2 separate regions of the Homo sapiens genome follow, and region 1 is linked to region 2. The links are contacts of gene promoters, found by promoter capture Hi-C in human tissues and cell types (Jung and others, 2019). All regions are on one chromosome and are shown on one strand. The core of a region is centred on a gene start or on the middle of the fragment in contact, and the rest is flanking DNA. Distances in the headings are between cores, read along the strand shown.

Region 1 (4,837 bases), core at 940-3,439, 230 kb before region 2:
CATTCAATTGTCTTAATTCATTTCAAATCCATGAAAGGACTCACACTGGAGAGAAACCGTATGAATGTAAACAATGTGGTAAAGCCTTCAGTTGTTCCAGTTCCTTTAGAATACATGAAAGAAGTCATAGTGGAGAGAAACCCCACGTATGTAAACGATGTGGTAAAGCCTTCATTTGGCACAATTCCTTTTGAATACATGAAAGAACCCACACTGGAGAGAAACCCTATGTATGCAAGCAGTGTGGCAAAGCTTTCATTTATTGTACAACTTTTCAAGGACACATGAGAATGCACACTGGAGAGAAGCCCTATAAAGTGTAAAGAATGTGGAAAAGCCTTCAGTCATCCCAGTTCATTTAGAAGCCATGAAAAAATACACCCTGGCAGAAAACTTCTTGAATGTAAGTAAAGTGGGAGTTTTCAACTTGCCCACCTCCTTACAAAAACATGCAATAAGAATGTGCTAGATATAAAGCTTACAAATGTGAGAAATACAGGAAGTTTTTCAGTTTTAACAAATACTGTCAAAGTCATGTGAAAATTCTCACTAGAAAGAAATCCAATAAAGGCAAGTTGAGGCATACCTGTTTGTTATTCAGGAATTTGCTATAAGGTTATACTGGGGGAGGGGGTGCCATGTTTAAATTCAATGGTATCTTAAGGTAAAACTGTAATTTAAGCCCCAGTATTGATTAAGGACATGGAAATTTGCCAACTGATGCATTTCAACGGATGTTGAAGTTAATTCGGAGCCTGTTTTGTAGAGGTGTGAAACCCAGTCAGCACCCATTTATTTTTTTGCTGTTATTTTAATAAACTTTGGATTTCTAATTTGATCAAATTATGGACCTTTGTCTCAATTTTTTTCTTTTTTCTTTTGGTGATTGCAGGGTGAGGGAGAGGGGTGTTCTGTGTACCCTACTTATATTTATATCCTTCATTCTCTAGAGAGCCTCAAGTCAGTGTCATCATGGTTATGGGCCTCCCTCATGGCAGTGGTTGCTTTAGAGGGTTTCAGGACTGTGGGCTTAAGTCTGATTTAAATTAAGGGTATCTCTCTGAAGTCTCTATTCTATTCCTTTGCTCTGTTTTTTTTTTTTTGTCTTTCTTTCTTGAGACGGAGTCTCGCACTGTCACCCAGGCTGGAGCGCAGTGGCGCGATCTTGGCTCACTGCAACCTCCGCCTCCCAGGTTCAAGCGATTCTCCTTGCCTCAGCCTGAGATTACAGGTGCCCGCCACCACGCCCGGCTAATTTTTTTGCAGTTTTAATAGAGACGGGGTTTCACTATGTTGGCCAGGCTGGTCTTGAACTCCTGACCTAATGATCTGCCCACCTTGGCCTCCCAAAGTGATGGGATTACAGGCGTGAGCCACCACACCCGGCCTCCATTGCTCTATATATCTGCCTTTATGTCATGTCAACACCACACTATTTTGATTACTGAAACTTAGAGTAAGTTTTGAAACTAGGAAGAGTGAGGCTTCCAGCTTTGTTGTTCTCTTTTTCTTTTCTTTTCTTTTTTTTTTTTTTTTTTTTTTGAGACAGAGTTTTGCTCTTGTTACACAGCCTGGACTGCAGTGGTGTGATCTCGGGTCACTGCAACCTCTGCCTCCCAAGTTCAATCTATTCTCCTGCCTTAGCCTCCTGAGTAGCTGGGATTACAGGCATGTGCCACCACACCCAGCTAATTTTGTGTGTGTGCAATGGCTCGATCTCGGCTCACTGCAACCTCCGCCTCCCTGGTTCAAGCGATTTTCCTGCCTCAGCCTCCCGAGTAGCTGGGATTACAAGCATGGGCCACCATGCCCGGCTTATTTTTTTGTATTTTTAGTAGAGATGGGGTTTCTCCTTGTTGGTAAGGCTGGTCTCGAACTCCCGACCTCAGGTGATCTGCCTGCCTCAGCCTCCCAAAGTGCTAGGATTACAGGCATGAGCCTCCGTGCCCAGCCAAAACTTAGAGTAAGTTTTGAAACTAGGAAGAGTGAGGCTTCCAGCTTTGTTGTTGTTTTTCTTTTTTTTTTTGAGACGGAGTTTTGCTCTTGTTGCACAGGCTGGAGTGCAGTGGTGTGATCTCGGGTCACTGCAACCTCCGCCTCCCAGGTTCAATCGATTCTCCTGCCTCAGCCTCCTGAGTAGCTGGGATTACAGGCATATGCCACCACACCCAACTAATTTTTTGTGTTTTTAGTAGAGACGAGGTTTCATCATGTTGGCCAGGCTGGTCTCGAACTCCTGACCTCAGGTGATCCACCCACCTTGGCTTCCCAAAGTCCAGGGATTACAGGCGTGAGTCACCATGTCCAGCCTGTTGTTCTTTTTCAAGATTGTTTTGGCTATTTGGGGTCCTTTGAGATTCCCTGTGAATTTTAGGATGAGTGTTTCTGTTTCCAGAAAAAAATGTCATGGGCCTTTTGATAATGATTGCTTTGAATTTGTAGAGCATTTGCAGTAATATATTGACACCTTAACAAAATTAAGTCTTTTAAATTATGAACACAGAATGTCTTTCCATTTATTTATAGCTTTAATTTCTTTCAGTAACGTTTTATAGTTTTCAGTATACAAGTCTTTTGCTTTTTTGGTTAATTTTTTGTCATGGCGTTTTGCTGCGTTGTCCAGGTTAGTCTCAAACTCCTGGGCTCAAGCTGTTCTCCCATCTTAGGATCTTCAGTAGCTAGGACTGCATGTCTGTGTCACTATAGCTAGCTGTTTTTTTGTTTTTGTTTTTGTTTTGAGACAGGGTCTCATTCTGTCACTGCACTGTAGTGCAGTGGTGAAATCATGGCTCACTGCAGTCTCAACCTCCTGGGCTTAAGTGGTCCTCCCATCTCAGCCTCCCAGTAGCTGGGAGTACAGGCACAGGCCAGCACGTCCAGCCAATTTTTTTTTTTTTTTTTTTTGTAGTATGAGGTCTCACTTTGTTGCTCAGGCTTGTCTTGAACTTCTGGGTTCAAGTGATCCTCCCACCTTGGGCCTTCCAAAGTGCTGATTTTGCAGGTGTGAGCCACTGTGCTTGGCCTGTTTTATTCTTTTTGATGTTATTACTAATGTAATTGTTTTCTTAATTTCCTTTTCAGATTATTAACTGTTAGTGTATTGAAATGTAATTTTAGGCTGGGTGCAGTAGCTCACACCTGTAATTCCAGCACTTTGGGAGGCTGAGGCGGGTGGATCATGAGGTCAGGGGTTTGAGACCAGCCTGACCAACATGGTGAAACCCCGTCTGTACTAAAAAATATAAAAATTATCCGGGCCTGGTGGTGGGCAGCTATAATCCCAGCTACTCAGGAGGCTGAGGCAGGAGAATCGCTTGAACCTGGGAGGTGGAGGTTGCAGTGAGCCAAGATCGCACCATTGCACTCCAGCCTGGGCAACAGAGCGAGACTCCGTCTCAAAAAAAAAATGTAATTTTAAATGTTAATTTTGTACCCTGCAACTTTGCTGAATTCATTTATGAGTTCAGTTTTTGTGTACATATATGTGTATGTAATCTTTAGGATTTTCTACACATAGGATTATGTCATCTGCCAACATAATTTTATTTCTTCCTTGCCCATTTGGATGCCTTTTGTTTTTCTTTTTTTTTTTTTTCTGAGACAGAGTCTCACTGAGCCACCCAGGCTGGAGTGCAGTGGTGCAGTCTTGGCTCACTGCAACCACCGTCTCCCGGGTTCAAGCAATTCTCCCGTCTCAGCCTCCCGAGTACCTGGGATTACAGGCACCCGCCATCATGCCCAGGTAATTTTTGTATTTTAGTAGAGACGGGTTTTCATCATGTTGGACAGGCTGATCTTGAACTCCTGGCCTCAGGTGATCCACCCGCCTCAGCCTCCTAAAGTGCTAGGATTACAGGCGTGAACCACTGCGCCCAACTGGATGCCTTTTCTTTTTCTTACCTAATTACTCTGACTAGCTCTTCCAGTACTATATTGAATGGAAGTGGTGAAAGCAGTTATCCTATCTTGTTTCTGATCTTAGGGGAAAAGATCACCATGTTTATATTTCACCATTAAGTATGATAGTCTTGTAGATTCTTCATATATGGCCTATTACATTGACCTAGTTTCCTCCCATTCCTAGTTTGTTGTTTATCATCAACGGGTCTTGAATTTTGTCAGATGCCTTTTGTGTATCAATTGAGATTACTGTGATTTTTCCGTCATTCGGCTAATGTGGTATATTATATTGACCGATTTTCATAGGATGCACTGTTTGCATTCTGGAGATAAATCTCACTTGATCATGGTTTAGAAGTTTTTAAAAAATACAGATGTAGTCTTGCTCTGTTGCCCAGGCTGGAGTGCAGTGGCATGATCATAACTCACTGTAGTCTCCAAACTCCTGGGCTCAAGCAATCCTCCCACCTCAGCTTCCCAAGTAGCTGGGACTACAGGTGCATGCCACCACACCTGGCTGATTTTTGTATATTTTGTAGACACAGGGTCTTGCTATGTTGCTTTTCATATGCCTGTTTGCCATTTGTATGTCTTCTTTTGAGAAATGTCTATTCAAATCCTTTGCCTATTTTTTGACCAGATTATTAGATTTTCTTCCTATAGAGTTGTTTGGGCTCTGTATATATTGTGGTTATTAACCCCTTGTCAGAGAGGTAGTTTGCAAATAAATATTTTCTCCCACTCGGTGGGTTGTATGTTCACTTTATTGATTGTATCTTTTGCTATGCAGAAACTTTTGTAACTTGATGTGATACCATTTGTCCATTTTTGCTTTGGTTGCCTGTGCTTGTGGGGTATGCCCAATAAATCTTTGCGTAGACCAGTGTCCTGGAGATTTTGCCCAGTGTTTTCTTGTAGTAGTTTTATAGTTTGAGGT
Region 2 (5,499 bases), core at 657-3,156:
GCCTTGTGTGCTTTTCAGGATCTTGCACTACCTCAAAGGGCAGGTTCTCCAGTCCTTAGATATAACTTTCTACCTTTTAAGTCTGAGAGAGTCCAGAAGGCAAAAATCATTTCCGTTTTTTTTCCTATGGAATATGACCATGAAATTGGCTGTTCAGTCATGTGTCTCCAAGGAATGGAAACTAGGGTTGGGAAGAAAAGGTGAGTGTCCCAGGAGTTAGCTTTTTACAGGAATTATATACCAGAAGATTCCTCCCATCCCAGTGGATCCAGTTGCTCCCCAGGGGGCCACACCTTCCATCTCAGGCTGTCCCCTGGGAGGAGTGACCCAGGGGATGATATTCACTAGACCCTCCAAGAGACTTGGCAGCTGTGGACATCCATTTTTTTTGAGACAGGGTCGGCCTCTGTTGCCTAGGCTGGGATGCAGAGGCACGATCATAGCTCACTGCAACTTCAAACTCCTGGGCTCCAGCCATCATCCCACCTCAGCCTCAGGAGTAGCTGCGACTACAGGTGCCAGCTACCAAGCCCAGCTAATTTTATTATTATCATTTACACTAGAGACAAAGTCTTGCCATGTTGCCCAGGCTGGTCTGGAACTACTGGGATCAAGCAATACCTCTGCCTTAGCCTCCCAAGGTGCTGGAATTACAGGAATGACCCACCGTGTTCAGGAACCCAAAACAATTCTTTCAAGAAAAAGCCATACATTGCTAGCTGAAAACAAGATGACAAACTAGTGAAATATCGCCTGGGGCCAAACAGTTCATACTGTTGCTGTGAATTAAGGACAGAAGGTTAGCCTGGGGAAGTCTCTGGAAACCAAGAGATTTGCTGCCAGCCCTAGGAAGAGTCAGGATGAGAGAACACAGTGGTGGATTTGAGACCCTGCTGCCCACGTCTTTGGAAGACTCAGAGGGGAAACGGTCGCCCTTGGAAAGGAAGAAAGGACTGAGGACCACGGAAACCACAGCTCCTCCCACACACAAACCCCACACACGAGTCTGGATTCCACCTGGTGACTCGTCGTCACCGTGCAGCCTCCTCACCGGGTTCACAGGAACTGCGAGCCAGGCTGGAGGCGAGATTGCAGTTAGATATTAAACAGGTGCCCTCAGCCCCGCTGCCTCAAGGGGCCGCCTCCCTGAGAGTCAGGTCACAGCAGACGCTGACCGCCGGCTTCCCCATTGTGCCTGGGGATAAGATCTCCGAGTGCTGCTCAAGAGTCGCCGGAGTTCTCAGATCCTGAATCCCAGCAGAAAGGCTGGCGCCAACCAGGTTGAAGACCCCACGAGGGAGCCCTCTCAGCAGAATGCGGTTTCTTCACCTCCTGTCCCAGGATTCACCCCTCACTTCCCCACCAACCAAGGACGCTACACCCAGCCGCCCCCGTCCAGACCCCAAATCCCTCAGGGAGGCGGATCTGGGGTGTCCTCCCCTCTCCTCCTGTTAAACCGTTTCTGCTGCAGCCCTCGGCGTCTCGGTGCAGTGAGTCGGGCCGCGAACCTGTGTTGGTTACAGCCGCACAATCTGGGGAGACCCGGGGCTGCGGGCTCGGAGCTGCCCAGAGAGGGCGCCGGGGCCGCAGTCGCCGCGCAGGAACGGGACAGGACGCCCGGGGTCCCGGCTGCATGCCCAGCCCCACCCTGCGGCCGAGGGCCGACCTACGCCAGGGGGACCCGGGTCCGTAGATCCCGAAGTCGCCCTTGGGGAGGCCCGGGTCCAGCCACAGCCGATTACGGCCGGTTCCACCTAACCCCTCCCCCGCCTCGGGACGCCGGCCCAGCACACGCACCATTTCCCGACTTCCGCGGTGTCCCAGGTCCTACCGACAGCTCCCGCTGCCAATGCGTGTTCCAGCCAGACAAAGGCTGCCTCAGAACTTCCAGGTCGTCTCTCAGCTACAGAACCCAGAGCCGAGCGCAGGTGGGTGGAGCAGACGCCGCGGGCTTTTTCAACCACACACACTTCTCTGGGCAGTGCCTGATTGACAGTTCCCACGAACCCGCCCCACGCCCCTGATTGGATAGGGCGTCAGGTCCCGCCCCCTGAGGGCTGATTGACAGAAGAAGCGATCTTGCACAGCTGAGTGGAGCCGGATGAGCAAGTTCCTGACACAGCCCTTGGCAGGGGGGGCTTCCTCCCTGCTCTTTGATCTGAATCCTCCCGGGTTATATTTGCACTTAAGCGGAATTTCCTGCCCGTACTCAATAGGACCTCCTGCTTCTTCCTCCTGGACACGGACTGACAAACTAATTATATCTTTTTTTTTTTTTTTCCTCGAGAGGGAGTCTTGCTCTGTCGCCCAGGCTAGAGTGCAATGGTGCGAGGCTCACTGCAACCTTCGCCTCCTGGGTGGGTTCAAGCAATTCTCCTGCCTCAGCCTCCCGAGTAGCTAGGATTACAGGCACGCGCCACCACCCGGCTAATTTTTGTATTTTTCAGTAGAGGCTGGGTTTCACCATGTTGGCCAGGCTGGTCTCAAACTCGTGACCTCGTGATCCGCCTACCTTGGCCTCCCAAAGTTCTGGGATTAGAGGCGTGAGCAACTGCGCCTGGCTCCAATTATGCTCTTTTTCAATGAAATTTTTCAAGATTTTTCAATGTACAATTAAATTATTTTTTACTATAGTCACTCTGTTGTGCTAGCAAATACTAGGTCTTATTCATTCTTTGTAACTATTTTTTATACCTATTAACCATCCCCACTTCCCCCATAACTACTCCTCGCTACTACTTTTCGCAGCCTCTGGTAACCATCCTTCTACACATTTTTGGTTGTTTGAGATGGGGTCTTGCTCTGTTACCTAGGCTGGAGTGCAGTGGGGCCATCATGGCTCACTGCAACCTCTACCTCCTAAGCTCAAGCAATCCTCCCACCTCAGCCTCTCAAGTAGCTTCAGATTGTTCACTGTTGGCATATAAAAATGTTATTGATTTTTGTGTGTTGATATTGTATACTGCAACTTTACTGAATTTATTTCTCAGTTCTAATACTTTTTTGGTGGAGTCTTTAGGTATTTCCAGATATAAGATCATATTATATGCAAACAAGGATAATTTGACTTCTTCCTTCCCAATATGGATGCCCTTTATTTCTTTTTTTTTCTTTTTTTTTTTTTTGTCTTATTGCTCTAGCTGGGACTTCAAGTACTGTGTTGAACAACAGTGGTAAAAGTGGGCATTCTTATTGTGTTCCAGATCTTACAGGAAGGGCTTTCAGTTTTTCCCCATTCATTATCATGCTAGCTGTGGGTCTGCCATATATAGCTTTTATTATGTTAAGGTATGCTCCTTCTTTACCCACTTTTTTTTAGGGTTTTTATCATGAAGGGATGTTAAATATTATCAAAAGCTTTTTCAGTGCACATTGAAATGATTATATGGTGTTTGCCCTTTATTCTGTTGAAATGATACATCACATTGATTGATTTGCATATATTGAACCATCCTTGCATCCCAGGGATAAAGCCCACTTGGTCATGATGAATGATCTTTTTGGTGTATTGTTAAATTCAGTTTGCTAGTATTGAGTTGAGGATTTTTGCATCAATATTCATCAGTGACACTGGCCTATAGTTTTCTTTTTCTGACATGTCTTTGTCTGGTTTTGGTGTCAAAGTAATATTGGCTTTGTAAAATAAATTTGGAAGTATTGCCTTCTCCTCTGTTTTTTGGAATAGTTTGAGTAAGATTGGTATTAGTTCTTTTTTAAATGTTGGTAGAATTCAGCAGTGGAGCCACTGGGTTCTGGGGTTTTCTTTGCTAGGAGACTTTTTATTATGGCTTTGATCTCATTATTTGTTATTGGTCTGTTCAGGTTTTTTATTTCTTCATGGTTCAATGTTGCTATGTTCTATCTGCCTAGGAATTTATCAGTTTCTTCTAGGTTTTCCAGTTTATTGGCATATAGTTGTTCTTAGTTGCATTAATGATCCTTTGAATTTCTGCAGTATCAACTGTAATGTCTCCTTTTTCACCTCTAATTGTATTTATTTGGGCCTGGTTTTTTCTTAGTCTACCTCAAGGTTTGTCAATTTTGTTTGTCTTTTCAAAAAACCAACTTTTTGTTTCATTGTTCTTTTCTATTGTTTCTTCATTTCAAATTCATTTATTTCTACTGATTTTTATTATTTCTTTTCTTCTACTGATTTTGGGTTTGGTTTGCTCTTGCTTTTCTAATTCTTTAAGATGCATTCTTAGGTTGTTTATTTGAAGGTTTTCTTCTTCTTCTTTTTTTTTTTTTGAGATGAGTTTCACTTCACTCTTGCAGCCTAGGCTGGAGTGCAATGGCGCAATCTCAGCTCACTGCCACCTCTGCCTTCTGGGTTCAAGCAGTTCTCCTGCCTCAGCCTCCCAAGTAGCTGGGATTACAGGCACCGACCACCATGTCATTTTTTGTATTTTTAGTAGATACAGGGTTTCACCATGTTGGCCAGGCTGGTCTCGAACTCCTAACCTCAGGTGATCCACTCCCTTTGGCCTCCTAAAGTGCTGGGATTACAGATGGGAGCCACTGCACCCAGCCTGAAGGTCTTCTTCTTTTTTGATGTAGGTGCTTATATCTATAAACTTCCCTCTTAGTACTGCTTTTGCTGTATTCCATAGGTTTTGGTATGTTGCATTTTCATTATCATTTGTTTGAAGAAACTTTTCAATTTTCTTCTTAATTTCTTCATTGACCCACTCGTCATTCAGGAGCGTATTGTTTAATTTCCATATGTTTGTATGGTTTCCAGAATTCCTCTTGTCATTGGTTTCTAGTTTATTCCACTTATTCTGTGACACAATTTATATTATTTCAATTTTTCGGAGCGTTTTAAGACATGTTTTTTGACCTAACATATGGTCTATCCTTGAGAATGATTCCTGTGCTCAGGAAAAGTATGTGTATTCTGTAGCTGTTGGATAAAATGTGCTGTAAATATCTATTAGGTCCATTTGATCTATAGTGTAGATTAAATCCCATTTAATCTTTCTTTTGTCCAATTTTTCAGTATATATTGAAATAATCTTTGTTGATTTACTGTCTGGAAGATCTGTCCAGTTCTGAATATGGGGTGTTAAAATCTCCAGCTATTAGTGTATTGGTGTCTATCTCTCTCTCTCTCTTTTTTTTTTTTTTTTTGAGACAGAGTTTCACTCTTGTTGCCTAGGCTGGAGTGTAGTGGTGCAATCTTGGCTTACTGCAGCCTCCACCTCCAAGGTTCAAGCAATTCTCCTGCCTCAGTCTCCCAAGTAGCTAGGATTACAGGTGCCCACCACCACACCTGGCTAATTTTTTGTATTTTTAGTAGAGACGGGGTTTTGCCATGTTGGCCAGGCTGGTCTTGAACTCCTGGCCTCAGGTGATCCACCTGCCTTGGCCTCGCAAAGTGCTGGGATTACAGGCATAAGCCACCATGCCCGGCCCTCTCTCTTTTTACCTAATAATATATGTTTTCTATATCTGAGTGCTCCAATGTTGGGTGCATATATGTTCACAATTGTTACATCG

The links. The method cuts DNA at HindIII sites, captures the fragments that hold promoters and counts their contacts. A contact is called where the count stands out against the background at its distance.
Region 1: a contact is called between a fragment that was not itself captured here and the fragment with the promoter of ZNF443 in region 2, in 1 of the 25 tissues and cell types used here (adrenal gland).

What each region holds. Positions count from the first base shown.
Region 1 is chr19:12,209,029-12,213,865 of GRCh38, forward strand. It overlaps the pseudogene LOC100289333. Among named protein-coding and RNA genes, the nearest start is that of ZNF136, 48 kb to the left of the region's middle. The HindIII fragment of the contact is 4,844 bases long and covers 1-4,611 here.
Region 2 is chr19:12,439,115-12,444,613 of GRCh38, forward strand. It overlaps ZNF443 (zinc finger protein 443), which reads right to left and starts at 1,907. Exons shown (of 4, transcript NM_005815.5): 1 at 1,798-1,907. The coding sequence starts at 1,800. RefSeq lists a silencer at 1,586-1,675 and an enhancer at 2,086-2,355. The HindIII fragment of the contact is 16,773 bases long and covers 1-5,499 here.